Linked DNA regions of Homo sapiens: regions 1, 2, 3, 4 and 5 are each linked to region 6. Evidence: promoter capture Hi-C in human tissues and cell types (Jung and others, 2019). All regions are on one chromosome and are shown on one strand. Each heading gives the region's core, a stretch centred on a gene start or on the middle of the fragment in contact. The rest is flanking DNA. Distances are from core to core; before and after follow the strand shown. Region 1 overlaps LOC105372016 (a long non-coding RNA gene). Region 2 has its middle 85 kb from the start of CTAGE1. Region 3 has its middle 250 kb from the start of RBBP8. Region 4 has its middle 110 kb from the start of CTAGE1. Region 5 has its middle 240 kb from the start of CTAGE1. Region 6 holds the start of GATA6 (GATA binding protein 6).

Evidence for each region. Contacts are between HindIII fragments. The study calls those that stand out against the background at their distance.
Region 1: a fragment that was not itself captured here is called in contact with the fragment with the promoter of GATA6 in region 6 in 1 of the 25 tissues and cell types used here (heart left ventricle).
Region 2: a fragment that was not itself captured here is called in contact with the fragment with the promoter of GATA6 in region 6 in 3 of the 25 tissues and cell types used here (IMR-90 fibroblasts, aorta and small bowel).
Region 3: a fragment that was not itself captured here is called in contact with the fragment with the promoter of GATA6 in region 6 in 1 of the 25 tissues and cell types used here (lymphoblastoid cells).
Region 4: a contact is called between a fragment that was not itself captured here and the fragment with the promoter of GATA6 in region 6, in 2 of the 25 tissues and cell types used here (aorta and mesenchymal stem cells).
Region 5: a contact is called between a fragment that was not itself captured here and the fragment with the promoter of GATA6 in region 6, in 3 of the 25 tissues and cell types used here (H1 embryonic stem cells, heart left ventricle and lymphoblastoid cells).

The regions. Positions count from the first base shown.
Region 1 is chr18:21,897,938-21,901,076 of GRCh38, reverse strand. All of the region lies in intron 1 of LOC105372016 (a long non-coding RNA gene), which reads right to left. Among named protein-coding and RNA genes, the nearest start is that of MIR133A1HG, 68 kb to the right of the region's middle. The HindIII fragment of the contact is 4,850 bases long and covers 1-3,139 here.
Region 2 is chr18:22,501,741-22,504,538 of GRCh38, reverse strand. No RefSeq gene overlaps it. Among named protein-coding and RNA genes, the nearest start is that of CTAGE1, 85 kb to the right of the region's middle. The HindIII fragment of the contact is 8,094 bases long and covers 1-2,798 here.
Region 3 is chr18:22,676,978-22,679,890 of GRCh38, reverse strand. No RefSeq gene overlaps it. Among named protein-coding and RNA genes, the nearest start is that of RBBP8, 250 kb to the left of the region's middle. The HindIII fragment of the contact is 3,901 bases long and covers 1-2,913 here.
Region 4 is chr18:22,523,772-22,526,652 of GRCh38, reverse strand. No RefSeq gene overlaps it. Among named protein-coding and RNA genes, the nearest start is that of CTAGE1, 110 kb to the right of the region's middle. The HindIII fragment of the contact is 5,421 bases long and covers 1-2,881 here.
Region 5 is chr18:22,658,561-22,661,364 of GRCh38, reverse strand. No RefSeq gene overlaps it. Among named protein-coding and RNA genes, the nearest start is that of CTAGE1, 240 kb to the right of the region's middle. The HindIII fragment of the contact is 8,147 bases long and covers 1-2,804 here.
Region 6 is chr18:22,167,974-22,170,845 of GRCh38, reverse strand. GATA6 (GATA binding protein 6) reads right to left here and starts at 1,257. Exons shown (of 7, transcript NM_005257.6): 1 at 1,164-1,257. It overlaps GATA6-AS1 (GATA6 antisense RNA 1 (head to head)), which reads left to right and starts at 1,878. Exons shown (of 2, transcript NR_102763.1): 1 at 1,878-2,179; 2 at 2,463-2,872. The HindIII fragment of the contact is 12,336 bases long and covers 1-2,872 here.

The DNA of each region.
Region 1 (3,139 bases), core at 327-2,826, 270 kb after region 6:
CACCCCCATGATCCAATCACCTTCCACCAGGTCCCTCCCCCAACACTGGAATTACAATTCAACATGAGATTTGGGTGGGGACAGAGCCAAACCATATCACCTGGAGAAAGTGGACAGTTGTGACCCAAGAAGGCTGTCTCTTCTCAGGTCCCAGTTGAGCGCTTGCTTTTGTGACATGAATGTCCCCTAACCTTTTTTACTGGCACAGTGACTCATGGCAAAAGCAATGCACTTTGTCCCAAGCAGAGACTGCAGCAGTAGGGAATATCAGGAAACCTTGGGATCTGCCCGCCTGCAGGTGGTGAGGTCCTATTAGTGGGTGGACAACGCGTCCTTGTTTGCCATGGGTGTGAGATCATTGCTCTGCTGTCTGCTGGCACTCCCCTGGAGCTGCCTCAGGCTGGTGGGTGAGTTAGGTCTCTAAGGATGTTCCATACAGGGACTGGCCCTAAAGTTAATGCAGCTTAGGCTGCAGGACCCTCATTTGCACAGGCCCTCCAAGGCTTGGGAAGGGTCCAGCAGTGTTTTCACATTTGCATGATTACATTGTTTTTTCTTTTTCTTTTCTTTTTTGAGACAGGGTCTTACTCTGTCAACCACACTGGAGTGCAGTGGCACAATCTCAGCTCACTGCAGCCTCAACCTCCTGGGCTTGAGCAGTCCTCCTGCCTCATCCTCCCAAGTAGCTGGAACTATAGGCACACACCACAATGCCTGGCTAATTATTTTATATATAGAGAGAGAGATGGGGTCTCACTGTATTGCCCAGGCTGGTCTCAAACTCCTGGGCTCAAGGGATCCTCCTGACTCGGCTGTATTCCCAAAGTGCTGGGAATACAGGTGTGAGCCACCACACCCAGCCAAAAATAATATATTTAACTGCTATCAGTTATGACTATTTTCTGTTTCTACTCTCACTTTCCTTTCTCCACTCTTTCCCTGTGCCAGGTGGGATGGACCAGCCATGGGCATATCTGAAGGTACATTGAGGCAGATGAGAATGCATTGAGGGTACATTTATTTGGGGTTTTGTTGGATACATTTATGTGGCTTACAATTACTTCTGTGAATTCTTCACTTATTACTTATTACTAAGCTATCTTAGGAGCACCCTCATCTCACTCCCTGCCTAGTGTTATGACGGGAAGAACCAGGGCTATCCCTATACACTGTGTCCTATGGCATCTGGCATGAGAAGTACATAGATTGTGGAGGAAAAAGGTTTGAAATGAATCAAGCCAGAAGGTGGTCTGTGAAAAATTCTTCCAACTGTCAGACATGGAAAATGGTAAGCCAAAGGTTCCATTAACAACTACTAGTCAATGGCGGAGTATGGTGACTCATACCTGTAATCCCAGCACTTTGGGAGGCCGAGGCAGGTGGATGGCTTGAGCCCAGGAGTTTAAGACCACACTGGGCAGTTTAGTGAGACCTCATCTCTATTTAAAAAATAAATTAAAAGAAAAAAACTAATCAAAATGGAATTTGTCTCCTGTGAAGAATATGTTAGCCGGGTGCGGTGGCTCACGCCTGTAATCCCAGCACTTTGGGAGGACAAGGCGGGCAGATCATGAGGTCAGGAGATCAAGACCATCCTGGCTAACATGGTGAAACCCCATCTCTACTAAAAATACAAAAAATTAGCCGGGCGTGGTGGCAGGTGCCTGTAGTCCCAGCTATTCTGGAGGCTGAGGCAGGAGAATGGCGTGAACCCAGGAAGCGGAGCTTGCAGTGAGCTGAGATCGTGCCACTGCACTCCGGCCTGGGTGACAGAGCAAGACTCCATCTCAAAAAAAAAAAAAAAAAAAAAAAAAAAAACGAATATACCTGATAATACAGCACATACAATTATGAACAAACTTTGCTTTTTTTCTTTTTGGAGGGGATCACACAAAATACAATTTTCAGAATTTCTCTATAGGTATGGGATAAAACTGCAGAAGCACTACAAACAGCAAGTTATAGTCATGTGTGAAATCCTATGTGTTATGCATCCCAACCATCAATAATAATTACCAAGCAACCACGCTAATAGGAACAGCTGAATTACATTTCTATTTTCTCTACTAAAAATGATTGTAGAAAATTGCAGACACATTGAAAGACAATCAAAGAGTATAAAGCTAAAGATATGGGGGAAAGAAGCATTAGATACGTTAGGGGGCTCAGTAATAAAAATGTGCATTTTTTCTGGATTTGGAGACATTTGTAGTCTTTTTTCTAATTGTGATCAGTTGTGATTTATTTTCTCATTCTAAATAAAAATTTATTTTCACATATACATTTGTATTTGTCATTTTCTGTTATCTTCCTAAAGATGACACCCAAATTATATACGCTCTGGGCCTCACAAAACCTTGATCCACCTCCTGAATGTCCATATTAGCTTATAGAACTGATAATCATCCTTGCCAGGACCATGGAAAACACTGATTTTTGTTTCTCTGGTAGACAGGCAGTATGTTATGATGCTTAGGGGCCAGGAACTCTGGGACCAGAATGCCAGAGTTCAAATGCCACGTAAAGCATGACCCACAGTTTCTATCATTTATAAGACACTTAGAAAGTGCCGCTTCATAACACTTCGTAAATATTCACTATATTATTATTAGACTTAGACATGTCTTCTCTTGTTCTAAACCCTTATCCAGTTACAATAATTGCAAGATACAGAATTTTGAGAAATCATTTGTGATTATATTTTATGTACAGCAATTTTTAAATGAAACACTACTCTAAACTAAAAGTAAAGAATGAATTAGGGCTGGGCACGGTGGTTCACACCTGTAATCCCAGCACTTTGAAAGGAGGTGGTGGCAGGAGAATCGCTTGAGCCCAGGAGTTTGAGGCTGCAGTGAGCCATAATCATGCCACTGCATGCCCTCCTGGGCAAAAAAGCAAGACCCCAACCCTAAGGGAAAAAAAAAAAGAATGAATTGGAGCTCTCTGTCCCTTTGTTTCCCACCACATGGTAGCATGAGGATGGAGTGCAAGCGCTGGATGAATTCAGCTTGAGTAAAGCCAGGTGATGGAGAGGAGAACGTGTAAAGGTCAGAGGTCCATTCACCAATGCAATGATCCTCACTGCCCCAACGCTAAGCCAGGGAGGAGCAGGGCTTCATTCTATTCACTAAGGGGA
Region 2 (2,798 bases), core at 204-2,703, 330 kb before region 6:
GTACACAAGGCTGGTGTGAACATCTCTGAGTGAGGACTGGCAAGGCCTGCCCTGCCTTGGAAAGTACTTGGCTGTGTGACTGCCCTTTACACTGCTCTGAGCACTGTCCCCAGACTGCTGGGTTCTCACTTGTCATATCCAACTTACCATAAGACCCTGGAGACATGTGAAGCCTTGCTCTCTGCACAGATGGTGGGGCCATACCAGGAGTGCTCTTGAATAAAACAGGACAAGGACCTACCCTGCAGCATTGCCCTAAGAAGACTTGCAAGCAGAAGATGGTGGGAACTGAACTGTCAACCAAAGAGCTGTGGAATCCACTCCTGGGACTGAGCAGACATTTTCCCAGGCTGACTTACACACTATAGCCACTCATCACAACAGAGAGGGATGGCCCACCCAATACCCTGGCCTGGGTCCCCTGTGAGTTCACGCTGTCTTCCGCCTTTGCAGGGAGATTGTAGCACACATCTCTCCAAGGTTACATCATCTCCTGAAGGCAAGGGCCTCTAGTGAGTTTTTGCTGGCTAAGTCCTCAGGGCAGGACTTGGTGTCCTTGATATAAAACATCTGTCTTGGGAGGCACAGTTGGGAAAGAATGAAGGATTTTTCTGGGAGCTCAACTGGCTCACTGAGCAAAGGCCAGGAGACATTTGGTGAAGTAGCGGAAGGCTGTAATATATAAACAAGATGTGAGTGTGCTTTTCAGGAGTGATGCATATCTATGGAAAGAAACCACAGGCCTCCTTTCTCTTCAGGCATGGGAAGAGAAAAGGACCTTTGTAATCTATGTGTGTTTATTTGTTTGACTCAATGGATAAACAGATATCAATATATTGCTATCTATCTATCTATCTATCTATCTATCTATCTATCTATCTATCTGTCTGTCTTGCCCTGGGGTATAAATGAGTATCTATAAATATCAACTTTTTCCCTGTAAAGTTTGCTGTTTGTACAGCATTCACTCTTTGTATAGATAGCTTCCTCCCATCAAACGCCTCAATGCCCTAAAATCAGTTGGGATGTTTTTCCAAAACTGCTGATAGGCTATCTGTATTTCTAAGGAGATGAAGGAGTTATATAATAGACCTTATTCTCTAACAGAAAAAGGAAGAAGCATGGGAATATTCCAACTAACCTGACTGAGGAGCTTGATAGAAACTTAAGGAAACAAGTCAGAGGATAAGAGCTCAGACTGTAAGAGGAAATGTTACTAAAGAATTTAAATGGCAATTCTGTCCTGGCCTCATTAGCTTTTTAAGATACACGATGTTGGGGCTTACCAGCTGGAGAGGACAATAGAGGAACAATATGAGGAAACAGGTGAAAAGGTTCTTCCTACCTCCCTGGACCTCCTGAGATCAGAAAGAAGGAAACAATCTGAAGATGCAGTGGATTTTCTCCCTTAAGCTTCTTTCTTCGTTCTCTTTTGATATTAATCCAGGACAATGGGTAGAGAAAGAATCTTCGAAACGTTAACTATAAGGCAGGCATGGATACTTAGGATTTTGAAAAATATATATGTTGCCGGTATGTGCACAAAAATGTGTGTGTGTTGCCTGCGGGGTTGCGGAGGTGTGGTTAGTCAAGTTGTCCAGGACAACCAGATCACATCATAATCATCTTTTGAGACTTGGCTTAATGGAAATCCCTTCTTCTTCTCTAAGGCCTTTGCCAACTCCTCTTCCTGACACCCACACAAGATGAAATCTATCTCTTTGTGTATGCACGTCATATATTTGCACAACTTTTATCCCACCTAGAACTCTGACTCTTCCTATAATTGTGGCCAAGGATTGTGTCTCAGTCTTTTTGTAACTAAGCATCCAACATAGTCCCTGATACATAATAATCAAATTGAATAAATTAATACGTGTATATAACTTACTTTCTCCATTTATGTATTCATATGCAAACAAAAAATATTTCATATGTTAGAGATGTAAGGCTACATAACCTCTCTGTGAGGCACATTTGTTGCTTTGAAAATCAATGGAGTCCAAACTTTAAGTCAATGTTTCTCAAGAAGATATTGTGATTCAGTTAGTCTGGGATGGGTATTGTGCTTTTATTTGTACATGCTCCAGATGACTTAAATGTGCTGCTAGGATTATAACTACTGATTTAAGAAGAGAAAGATTTTTTGGGGAGACTTAAATTAATTGATCCCCCCCTCTTTTTAGTGATTTTTATGTCCCCAAAAAATCTGCTGACAAAACTCATAAAGATTATTCTCTTGGTTTATTTTTTTTCCCAGAAGTTTGATAGGTTGAATTTACATCTAGATCTATGATCTATTTCAAATTAATTTTTGTGTTTGGTGTGAGATAGGGGTCCAGGATCATTTACATACAATGATGTAATACAATCAGATGCATTCATTTTAAGTATGCAATTCAATAAGTTTTGACAAATTTATGTACCCATGTCACCACCACAATCTAGATATATAACATTTAGATCACCCCTGAAAGTCTTCCTGTTTCACCTTACAGTCAACTCTTTCACCTCTGACTGTGGGCAGTAGTTGATCTGAGGCCTTTGCCAACCCATCTTCCTGACACCCACACCAGGCCTCCTTTTCTGTCACTATGAGTTAGTTTAGCCTTTCTAGATGGAATCATACGCTATGTAGTTTTTGTCTAGCTTCTTCACTTGGTATATTTTTTTAGATTCATCCATAGTGTGCCATCTATCAACAATTTGTTTCTTTTCATTGCTAAGTAGTATTCCATTGTATGGATATAGCACAATTTGTTTATCCATTCATCTCTTATTGGTTTTGGGGGTCGTTT
Region 3 (2,913 bases), core at 79-2,578, 510 kb before region 6:
TGTTTTTTGAGCCTTTCAGAAAAATATAAAGTGAAGGAGCATGAGGAAAGAAGAAAATTCAAAATTCCCCCTTAAGAGTTAGGGCTTTGGTTCTGAAATCATGGCTGAGTTTTCTTCCTAAAATCTGTGACCTAACGACCATTCCTAGAGGGTAAATTGATGGGCAAAAATGGATCCTAGGTAATCTCACTATCTTCAAAACATGCATCTATTTACCAAGGTACCAAAACCCTGTCCAATTCGTAGGTAGCAGTCTGAGGCTTTTATGCTGAAAATTCTATACCAGTCATTGGGAATCACTTATGAACTATCTTTGGCCTAAACAGCACCATAGGATTGAAAAATTGCATTGTAGCATTTTAGCACTACTCATCAAGAATGATACAGTGCCAGGCAATGAAATTTGGAATACTGAGAGAGTTGGTAGCTCTAAAGCAAAAGTGAAGTAGCGTGTCTTACCTGCGTCATCAGTGAAAGTGGTTCAGCCTCCAAGAATATTGCATCTCTTTCCTAGTTCTCTTCCAAGTTCTATTTATTTGAAAGTTCATTTACAAAAGCTCCAGGCTTCAGGTCATAGAAGTGCTATTTAGGATGATGTTGAGGAAAGGCTGCTCATACCTATTAATCATAATACTGGGGGTACTGCATGAGTTCCCTGGGATATTTGGCTTGTCGGTTTGTGATAGCATGGAATCTAGAATCAGAGATGATAATCCTAGATGCATGGGCTGACCAGTTACTGATTCATAAGGGGAGAGTTGATAACCCCCAGGAGGAATTGATCTCACTGTCATTAAAGCCAATGGCAATATCTTAGGTGATGAAAGATTGAGAATCTATGAAAAATTTGCTAATTTGTGTTTTAAAATTCGATCTGCCCTTTCTTCCTTTCTTGATGATTGGGGCTGATATTGATAGTAGAGTTTCTGAGTAAGTGAGAATACTCTGCAAAGCTTTTAAATAATAGTCACAGTGTATAAGTTTTCTTGCTGCACAAGTCACCAGAAACCTAGTGACTTAAAAGCACCTGCATTTATTCTTGCTGTTTCCATGGGTCAGTAGCCTAAGCATGGCTTGCGTTGTCCTATGCTCAGGGTTTCTTAAGGCTGAAATGAAGGTGTTGTCCCAGTTGCATTCTCATGTAAGGGCTCTATTAAGGGAGAACCTGTTTCTTAGCTCACACCATTTATTGGAAGAATTCATTTCCTTGTGGTTGTAAGACTGAAGGCTCCAGCTTCTTGCTAGCTGTTGGCTGGAGGCCACCCTTGGCTGCTATTAGTTGCCTGCAGATCCTAGATGCAGCCTCAGTTCCTTACCTCAGGGGCTTTCCTGAAATGAGTGCTTCATGAAGCCAGGAAAGAGTCTTCAGAGTGTCTTCTAGCAAGACAAGTAATTTATAAAACTAACATAAGCACGGGAGCAATAGCCCATCACCTTTGGCATACTGTGTTAGTTAGAAGCAAGTCACAGGTCCTGACTGCAGTCAAGGATCACACAGAGGCATAAAGACCAACAAATGTGGATCCTGGGTGGCCAAATTGGAGTCTGTCCAATATACCAAGGAAGATGAATGGTCTTGTTACTAGAGCAATAGTTTGGAATTCCCTAAGTTGGTAATACAATATCAAGTAAGTTTTTAAATTTGCAATTATTAGAGCCATGTTTCTCCAGCAAGGAAAGGGCTCAACTCATCCCAAGAATAAGCAAATAATAAGTAGGACACATTACAAATCCACTGCAAGAGCAGATATATGAAACCCTTTTGGAGCTATTCAAAGGGATTCTAAGCACTGGGCTCTTGTCCATGTCTGACCTGAACAGTTTTGTCAGAATCAGTCTAGTGGCAGGTAATATATGCACCAGAAATACCCTCAGAAGTTTTAGTGAAGTTTTCTCACCAAGAAGTTTAGTGGCCAGTTTGTCCTTGCTAATTTGTCTTTGCAGTGGTGGGTATTTTCATGTAAAATTTTTGCAAGATTCCATTTGAAGTTCTTCGGGACTAAACAGCCATCCTTAAAGCCTCGGAGATTATCCTCGTGCAGTTTACATCTGGATTTCTCCTAGTACGACTTTTCTGAACCTGGAGCCGATCACTGACATTCTATAAAAGCCTCTTTGAATTTCTCTAGCAATAGAATCTATTGGATTATCATTAGGGCTAGGATCTAAGTGAGTGCTGACTGTCTGGAACAAAGAGCTGTAGTATACCCATTTGTTTGAGCTCCTGTCTTTATATCTCCTTAAGAAACATTAGAACATGCAAAAATTCTTTAATTCTGCTGACCAATCTGAACTGGAGTTCCTGTTGGGGTCAAGAACCCTTGTTTACAAAACATCACCAAATATGACTACCTTCCAAAATGTATATCTCTATTATCAGTGGAAATTATCCTTTCATTTCTAGTTAACTGATAGGCTCTGGCACATGCAGTAAGTTCTTCAATCTGGACAGATTTTGCTTTTGGTAAGGGGTGATATTCTTACCTTCTATTTTGCAGTATCACTATTAAGATGTGATCCATCAGCAACTAGGATTAAGTCTGGATTTCCTAAAGCATTTTCTAATAAATCCACTCAGGGCATAGAGAGTTTGTGAACAGAGATTAAACAATCATGAGTTTCTTCTGTTTTGGGTAATTAATGAAAAGTAACAGGATTTTAAAGTACTATGATGATAAATGGAAATATATTAAGGAGAAAATAAGGATTCACACAACACAAGTCTTCCTGCTGAGAAGTGTTGTGTATTTCCAGTGAACAGCAAAGACTGTAGGGGATGAGGGCCCATTAAATTTAAAGGAGATCCTAAGACCAAGCTGGAAGATGCCTTCACTTGTGTAGCTGCTGTGGCTGTTGACAAGGCGGGTAGGCTCTTGTTAGACTACCAAGGGCTTGTTCAGATCTCTCAGGTAC
Region 4 (2,881 bases), core at 46-2,545, 360 kb before region 6:
GGTTCAAGTGGTTCTCCTTCCTTAGCCTCCCGAGTGGCTGGGATTACAGGCATGAGCAGCCATGCCTGGCTAATTTTTGTATTTTTTAGTAGAAATGGGATTTCGCCATATTGGCCAGACTAGTCTCGAACTCCTGACCTCACGTGATCCGCCCACCTCGGCGTCCCAAAATGCTGAGATTACAGGCGTGAGCCACCGTGCCTGGCCTGATTCTTTTACAGAGATCTTCCCAGTCTGTTTCTCACAAAGTCTCCAGGTGAGCACTCTGTGAACTCACGAGTTCAGATATCACAGTCTTCCTCTTCAGAGAGACTTGGCCCAAGCTGCCAAAGGGGTTGACTGAGAAGGCAGCTCGAGTGTGGCCCCACATGTAGTACCCACCAGCACCCCTTACTGCAAATGTCCCATTCAGTTTTCTCCCATCAGAAGAAGTGCCTCTCCTGAGTGCTGCCCCTGAAGCCTGGAGCTTCAGGGGTGGCCCTCACCTCAGAGTCTAGGTCCTGCTACAGGGCTTGACTCATGTTCCCCCATTGTCTTTTTGTTCACGCTCTTCAGGGCTTTATGAAAAGCAGAAATTCCAGCAGCCTCTCCCTGCAGGTCTTAAGTTCAGATGCGAATCCCGACACTGACAGTTGCTAGCTGCAAGATTTGGGAAAAGTCACTTTAAAACAAATAAACAACTTGTAAAGTCTTGATTTCTTTGTCTGTTCTGTGAGGATGCAGACAACTATCTGAAAATTCACTTGAATGGAAAACTTTGACTCATTTTTTTCCAGTGGCCCCTTACAGGACAAAGAGATAAAGAACAAGTTAGACTCACTTGGGAGGTTTCTTTTATAAATGAACTTTTAGAACCCACCTGTCCCATTTGTACAGATTCAGCCTGGTTTCAGGTGCCTCCAGCTCTTAGAGTTGTGGAGAGTTTGAGGTTGATGGAAATGCTTTCACAGAGGATTTTTGTAATCTTCACATAATCCTGAGAAGTAGGTAGGTTTGCGTCTTATTCTCACTCTTCAGAGGAGGAAACAGATTTAGAGAATTTTGAATTTTTTTTAAAAAGCAATTTGCCTAGAATCTCCCAGCTACTAAGTAGAGCCAATCCTGAAACCCACGTCTTCTGGCTCTAATCCTCAGTCCTTCTCCCAGGGTCCACAGCACTGAGGTCACCGATGACCCAAATGATAATCTAAATAATGACTCTGAGGCTGGACAAGATGCCAGATCTTCAAAGAGAGAGTCTATTTGATCATTCCATTGCACCAGCAAAGTGGGTTTGAAATCTGTAGAGAGATTTCTTTTTCCCCAATAATAGCAGATGAAACAATACTGGTTAAAGAACATTCCATTTCCTAAGCATTCCCATTTTAAGTCTATGTCCCAGTCATTAACATGGCCATACATAGATTCACCATTTGAAGGAAGAAATATGTAGAAAAGCTGTCACAGAAACTTAAAACAGCCTATAGCAGGAAATGAGGAAAAAACACCATATATTGTAATCCTGTTTCTGTCTCCAAGGAGCAAACTCAAAAACAGACACCTATGGCTTTAAGAGAAACAGTTATACTGGGAGAGTGTTACACGTGCGAAGGAAGAGAATGTTTTTCATGCCTTGGTTCAGGGGATTCCCGACAGCCTGGGTCTGCTTCCAACAGCCCCCAGCATTCCATGTGTGTGCTATCTGGTATGTGTTTATTATTGGGTATGAACAATTTAGGGAGGAAAGCACTGGTTCCCTCCAGGGGACCTTTGTACCTTACAACGGCACCACCCCTTCACCTCTGGTGGGGGGAAGGTCATCCAGGCATTCACGGCCTTCCCGCCTCTACCCTTATTCTTCCTTAATCCCCACTTCTTCCTCTCTGGCATCTCCATTTGTTCCTAAATATTTTTCTGTTTTCCCTGCTTCTGAAGAAAAGCTTGGACAAAGGGACCCTAAGGAAGACACACTGAAACTTTTCCTAAATCAGGCACCATCACTGTGGGCTCTCTTCTTTTCCCTTAGAGCTAAGACATGGATTGTGAGATAGACATGGTCTAACTCCTCCTCGGTCTGGTGAACTCTAACGGTATAAAATCAGTCCAGATAGTGAACAGGTGGTTTGGCTCCTCTAAGGAGCTTCAGTTTGGTAGCATTTCACCTGGGCTTCTCAAGCTTGCATATTACCTAGAGCACTACACCTGAGAACTAGAGGCCCTGGGAGGTTCGTCTATTTTTTTTTTTTTTTGGATAGGACTCTTGCTATATTGCCTAAGCTGGTTTCGAACTCCTGGCCTCAAGCTATCCTCCTGCCTCAGCCTCCTTAGGAGCTGAGATTACAGGCAGAAGTTCATCTTACCTCATCTCTCAGTGTGGTCCAGATCTGTGGGGTGGTTTTCCTTAGTCATGCTTATTACTGTGTTATCTTAAAGATCAGGAGTCATACCTTACTTGCCAAATCCAATTTCCTCCGCCCATTTTTCATCTTCCTTGGTATCTTGTGGTAGGTGACCCTGTTGGGAAGACCCTATCCTGGTTCTCCCCCTTCCTCTCAGTGTGATGCTTCAATCTCCTTGGCAGTTCCTCTTCTTTCCTACCTCTGACTATGGATGCGACCCTAAATTTTGCTCTTGATCTTCTTGCCTTCTCTCCCCTCACATTATCCTTTGGTAAATTTACCAACCACTGCTTTATATATCACCTTCATATGAATGATTCCTGAATCTTTATCTCAAGTCCCATGGTTTTCCATGACAACAATATCCAAGTCCGTATGATTCCACTGAAAATGTGAGAGGTGAAAAAAATATTAGAGGAGGATATCAGAGTGACAGTTTAATAGCTGAGTTCATATAATTGAATCGTGGTGGAGAGCTTACTAATGTGCCCTAACCTTCCTTC
Region 5 (2,804 bases), core at 27-2,526, 490 kb before region 6:
TTAGGTCTAACGTTTAAGTCTTTAATCCATCTTGAATTAATTTTTGTATAAGGTGTAAGGAAGGGATCCAGTTTCAGCTTTCTACACATGGCTAGCCAGTTTTCCCAGCACCATTTATTAAATAGGAAATCCTTTCCCCATTGCTTGTTTTCCTCAGGTTTGTCAAAGATCAGATAGTTGTAGATATGCGGCGTTATTTCTGAGGGCTCTGTTCTGTTCCATTGATCTATATCTCTGTTTTGGTACCAGTACCATGCTGTTTTGGTTACTGTAGCCTTGTAGTATAGTTTGAAGTCAGGTAGCATGATGCCTCCAGCTTTGTTCTTTTGGCTTAAGATTGACTTGGCGATGCGGGCTCTTTTTTAGTTCCATATGAATTTTAAAGTAGTTTTCTCCAATTCTGTGAAGAAAATCATCGGTAGCTTGATGGGGATGGCATTGAATCTATAAATTACCTTGGGCAGTATGGCCGTTTTCACGATATTGATTCTTCCTACCCATGAGCATGGAATGTTCTTCCATTTGTTTGTATCCTCTTTTATTTCATTGAGCAGTGGTTTGTAGTTCTCCTTGAAGAGGTCCTTCACGTCCCTTGTAAGTTGGATTCCTAGGTATTTTATTCTCTTTGAAGCAATTGTGAATGGGAGTTCACTCATGATTTGGCTCTCTGTCTGTTATTGGTGTATAGGAATGCTTGTGATTTTTGCACATTGATTTTGTATCCTGAGACTTTGCTGAAGTTGTTTATCAGCTTAAGGAGATTTTGGGCTGAGACAATGCGGTTTTCTAAATATACAATCATGTCATCTGCAAACAGGGACAATTTGACTTCCTCTTTTCCTAATTGAATACCCTTTATTTCCTTCTCCTGCCTAATTGCCCTGGCCAGAACTTCCAACGCTATGTTGAATAGGAGTGGTGAGAGAGAGCATCCCTGTCTTGTTGCCAGTTTTCAAAGGGAATGCTTCCAGTTTTTTCCCATTCAGTATGATGTTGGCTGTGGGTTTGTCATAGATAGCTCTTATTATTTTGAGATACGTCCCATTAATACCTAATTTATTGAGAGTTTTTAGCATGAAGGGTTGTAGTTTGCTAGTATTTTGTTGAGGACTTTTGTGTGTGTTCATCAGGAATATTGGCCTGTAATTTTCTTTTTTGTGTGTCCTTGCTTGATTTTGGTGTCAGGGTGATACCAGTTTTATAGAACGAGATGGGAAAGAATCCCTCCTCCTTCATTTTTTGAAATAGTTTCTGTAAGATTGATATTAGTTTGTACACCTGGTAAAATTCAGCTGTGAATTTGTCTGGTCTTGGACTTTTTTGGGAGTGTATTTTAAATTACTGATTTAATTTTATGACTTATTATTGGTTTGTTCACAATTTCTATTTATTCCTGGATCAATTTTGGGAGTTGCATGTTTCCAGGAATTTATCCATTTCCTCTAGGTTTTCTAGTTTGTGCACAGAGGTGCTCATAGTACTCTCTGATGATCTTTATTATTTCTGTGATTATATTCTAGTATCACCTTTATCATTTCTGATTGTGTTTTTTGGATCATTTCTCTTTTTTTCTTGGTGACTCCTAGGTAGCAATCTATCAATTTAGCTTATCCTTTTGAAGAAAAATATTTTTGTTTCATTGATCTTTTATATCTATTTGGTCTCAATCTCATTTAGTTCTGCTCTGATCTTTGTTATTTATTTTTTTCTGCTAGCTTTGAGTTTGGTTTGTTCTTGTTTTTCTAGCTCTATGAAGTGGGATATTAGGTTGTTAATTTGTGATCTTTCTATCTTTTTGTAGGCATTTAACACTATAAGCTTTCCTCTGAGCACTACTTTTGTTGTATCCCAAATGTTTTGATATGTTGTGTCCCTATTTTTATCCAGTTCAAAAAATTTATTGATTTCTCTCTTAATTTTATTATTTACTCAAAGATTGTTCAGGAGCAAGTTATTTAGTTTCCATGTATTTACATAATTTTGAGATTTCCCCTTGGTGTTGATTTTTAATTTTATTTCACTGTGGTCTGAGAAGATATTTGATATAATTTTAATTTTTTTGAATGTATTGAGACTTGCTTTATGGCCAAGCACATGGTTTATTTGGAGAATGTTTCATGTGTGAATAAGAAAAATGCATATTCTACATTTGTTGGGTAGAGTGTTCAGTAAATGTCTATGAGGCCTATTTGCTCCAGAGTCCAGTTTATACCCTGTTTCTTTTTTCTAAATTTTTACTTTTTAAGCTATCTCCTACTGGAAGAAACTCCCAGAGTTTCTTTGTTGAATTTCTGCCTTTATGATCTGTCTCATACTGTTGATGGGGTGTTGAAGTCCCTTACTATTATTGTGTTGCTATCTATCTATTTTCTTAGGTCTAATAGTATTTGTTTTATGAATCTGGCTGCTCCGATATTGGGTGCATATACATTTAGGGTAGTTAAATGGTTTTGCTGAATTGAACCCTTTATCATCATATAATGACCTTCTTTGTTTTTTTCCACCGTTGTTGATTTAAAGTCTATTTTATCTGATATAAGTATCTGATACTTATGTCAAAACTCCTGCTTGTTTTTGTTTTCAGTTTGTGTGATCACAAACTGAAACCACCTTTACTTTGAGTCTGTGGGCATCTTTACCTATTAGATGATACTCTTGTAGGCGACTAATTGTTGGGTCTTGTTTTTTAAATCCATTTTGCCAGTCTATATCTTTTAAGTGGAGCATTTAGGCCATTTACTTTCAAGTTAATATTGATAAGTTTTCCTCCAGTCATAATGTTGATAGCTAGTTGCTTTGTAATC
Region 6 (2,872 bases), core at 8-2,507:
CCCGCGTCCTCCCCGCCCACCCCCTCGGCCGCATCCTTTCTCCGTGCGCGCGCCAGATCCCAGGGGTGATCTGCAGAAGCTGGCTGAGGCTTTCCTTCCGCCCTAAAGTGTCTCCCCCGGGCTGATGACACACAAAAGAATTTAAGTAGCTGTGCGTGTCGGCACCGCCGCATCCCGCCTCTCTGCGGATGCCCCTCTCCCGAAATGCCTCGGGGTGAGGGTTCCCCACGGGAAAACCCTTCGCGTAAGGAAGGCAACCTGTCCCCGAAAACGAAACCGCCGCGTTCTCCTATATTGGCTCTCCCAGAGCTTCCCGGACTGCGCTGACCAGCCCGAACGCGAGCCCCAGAGAGAAATGCAACTCGGCCCAGGGAAAGTGGGACGCCAGGGCGGGGGCAGCAGTCTGGGTCCTTCCCAGCAGAGGCAATGCGGAGAGCTTGTGGGGCGGGAATCGCCAGCCCCACCGGCGTCCCCGCGGCGCCGCACACCTTAGACACGGCCCGCGCCTGCAGCCACCAGCGTGCGCGCTCACGCCGGCCGGGCCACCCGGCCCACCCCGCGGTCATCTCCAGCAGCAGAAACGCCGGACCGTTCCGGAATCGGACGTAGCGGGGTGGAGCGGAGAGCAGAGAAAAGGAGGGGGAACGCAACGGGCTGGGGAGGGGGGAGCGTGAGACCGCCCCAGAGCCGAGGCGACCCCAAATGGGAGAGCAGGAAGAATGACAGGGAGACTCGGAGCGAGTGGGGGAGGGAGGTGAAATGCAGCCGGGCTGGCCTCCTCCAGGCTGCTCTTCCAAATCGCCTCGGCTCATCGGAGATTACCACACTAAAATTAATGCCCACACACAGACCTGGCTAGATAGCAAGAAAGAAGTTTCTCTGCCTGCCTAACTACCGGCTCCCGCCCCTTTGCGCCGAGATAACTCGGAGATAAGGCTGCGCGCAGATAAGCGCTTCGAGGAGAGAAAAAGAGACTAGAAGTTGGTCCGCGGTGTCCCGGGAGCCTGGGAGCCGCCTCAGCCCGCCCGGAGGGAAGGAGGGAAACACCGTCGGAGCCGACCGCGGCCTGGAGAGGGCCGGAGAGCCGGAGGCCAGGGGCCCGCGACGAGTAGGGGTGGAGGGGAGGAAAGCGGGGAGATCGCGCGAGGAGGAAGCAGCCGAACCTCGGGCGGGCGCTGCGCATGGAGAACGGCCGCGGCGGAGGGTGCTCCCAGGCGCGGAGAGAAGCCGAGGGCGCCAGCGGGCGAGCGCGAGTCCGGGGTCTGCGCCGCGCTGCTGGTGAATAAAAAGGAGAGAGGAGGCGCCTCTTACTGCTCTGCCGGAAAACTGCAGCCTGGGCTCCTGATTGGACTCACCGAGCCCTAAACAAACAGCGCTCGCCGAAGGGTGCCAGGCTGTGGGTCGGAACTGCGCTCAGCGAGCAGCTGGGCGCTGGAGGTGAAGAGGAGGAGGAGGGATCGAGGGGAGGAGAGAAAAGAGGGTGGGGAGGGGACGGCGAGGGGGGAGGGGAGCGCGCCGCCCAGGCAGACAATGAGAGCCGCGCTGCCTGCGGGCGTGGGCTGAGCCGCAAGCCCTGTCCCCGGAGTGGGGGCGAGTCCACCCGGGGGGCACCGAGCCCAGGGACCCCGGGGGAGGGGCGGAGGCCACAGAACGCCTGACCTGGCTAGCGACCCGCACCCATCCAGCGGCGGTGCACCCTCCCGCTCCCGCAGTCGCACACACACACCCACACGAGGGAGGGGGAGGGAGCCTTGGCACGGGAGGAGTTGGCAGTGCACAGTCCCGCGCCGCCGCCGCGGCGGGAGGGGCGCTCCAGACCTTGGGTCAGCACGCCCCCAGAAGGAAGGGGGAACGTGCTCTGCGCCCCCCCGCCCCCCAACCCCCGCCTAGCCCCTTCACAGCAAATGCGCTTTTTGCCCTGAAGTTGTGTGAGACCGACCTTAAACTTTCTCCGACCCTATCTCGGGATGCTACGGCTCAGGTCGTGGTGGTTTCGGGAACCTCAAGACAACATTCCCCAGCTGACCTTTGGGAACTTTAACTCGGGTCGTCATGTACGGAAAGGTAGTCTATGGGGTACGCAGAATGGAAAAGGGCTTCCACATCAGTCGTGTCCGAGGACGCTCTCCAACTTTTGATGTCCCTGGAGAGTTTCTGATATTTCCCTGGAGAGTTTCAGGTAAGTCACAGATAAGTCACTGCGAAGAGGGGGTGTCACCTTCCCTGGACCCAGCGCTAAATGCTGCTTCCCCACCCCCACGTTCATATACACACCCCCTCTTCGCTCCCTCCAAACAGTTATCACAACTCTGTACAAACTGATACGGTCCCTAGCGGGCAAAAGGGACTGGAAATGAACGTCGCGGGGTTATCAGCGCCGATCTGTCAGCGGCAACTCGCGCGGCCGCAGGCTCGTCCGCTGCAGGAGCCGTGATATATGTCTCGCTCCCTTTCGCTTACAGAAAGGATTTCTTCCGACAGACGTGACCCCAGAAGGCTGCCGAGGGAGACTTTAGGACAAGAGGCGTTGTTTTTGTGAGAATGAATTTTTATACTTTACCCCGACCCCACCCCCTACCCCCCGCCCAGGTAAATCCAAGTAAATGATTTTCTGAAGGTCGGTCTCCTAGAAAGCGTTTAGGCTCTGGTTTTTTGTTTTGTTTCTATTTTCGTGTTTTCCCAGTTAGGGAAGGAAGAGGAGCCTGTGCAGAGTTGAACTGGGGTGGAGAGGTGCCTTGTAAAGTATGGTTTCCAGAGATGGTGAGACCTCGTAGCTAAGCGTTGTTTCCTCTGCACGTAACTGTGAGTTGTGAACTTGTGGCTCCTGGGGGAGCGGGACAGGGCCTGGCAGTGCGGGGGAGGGGGCAAGGAA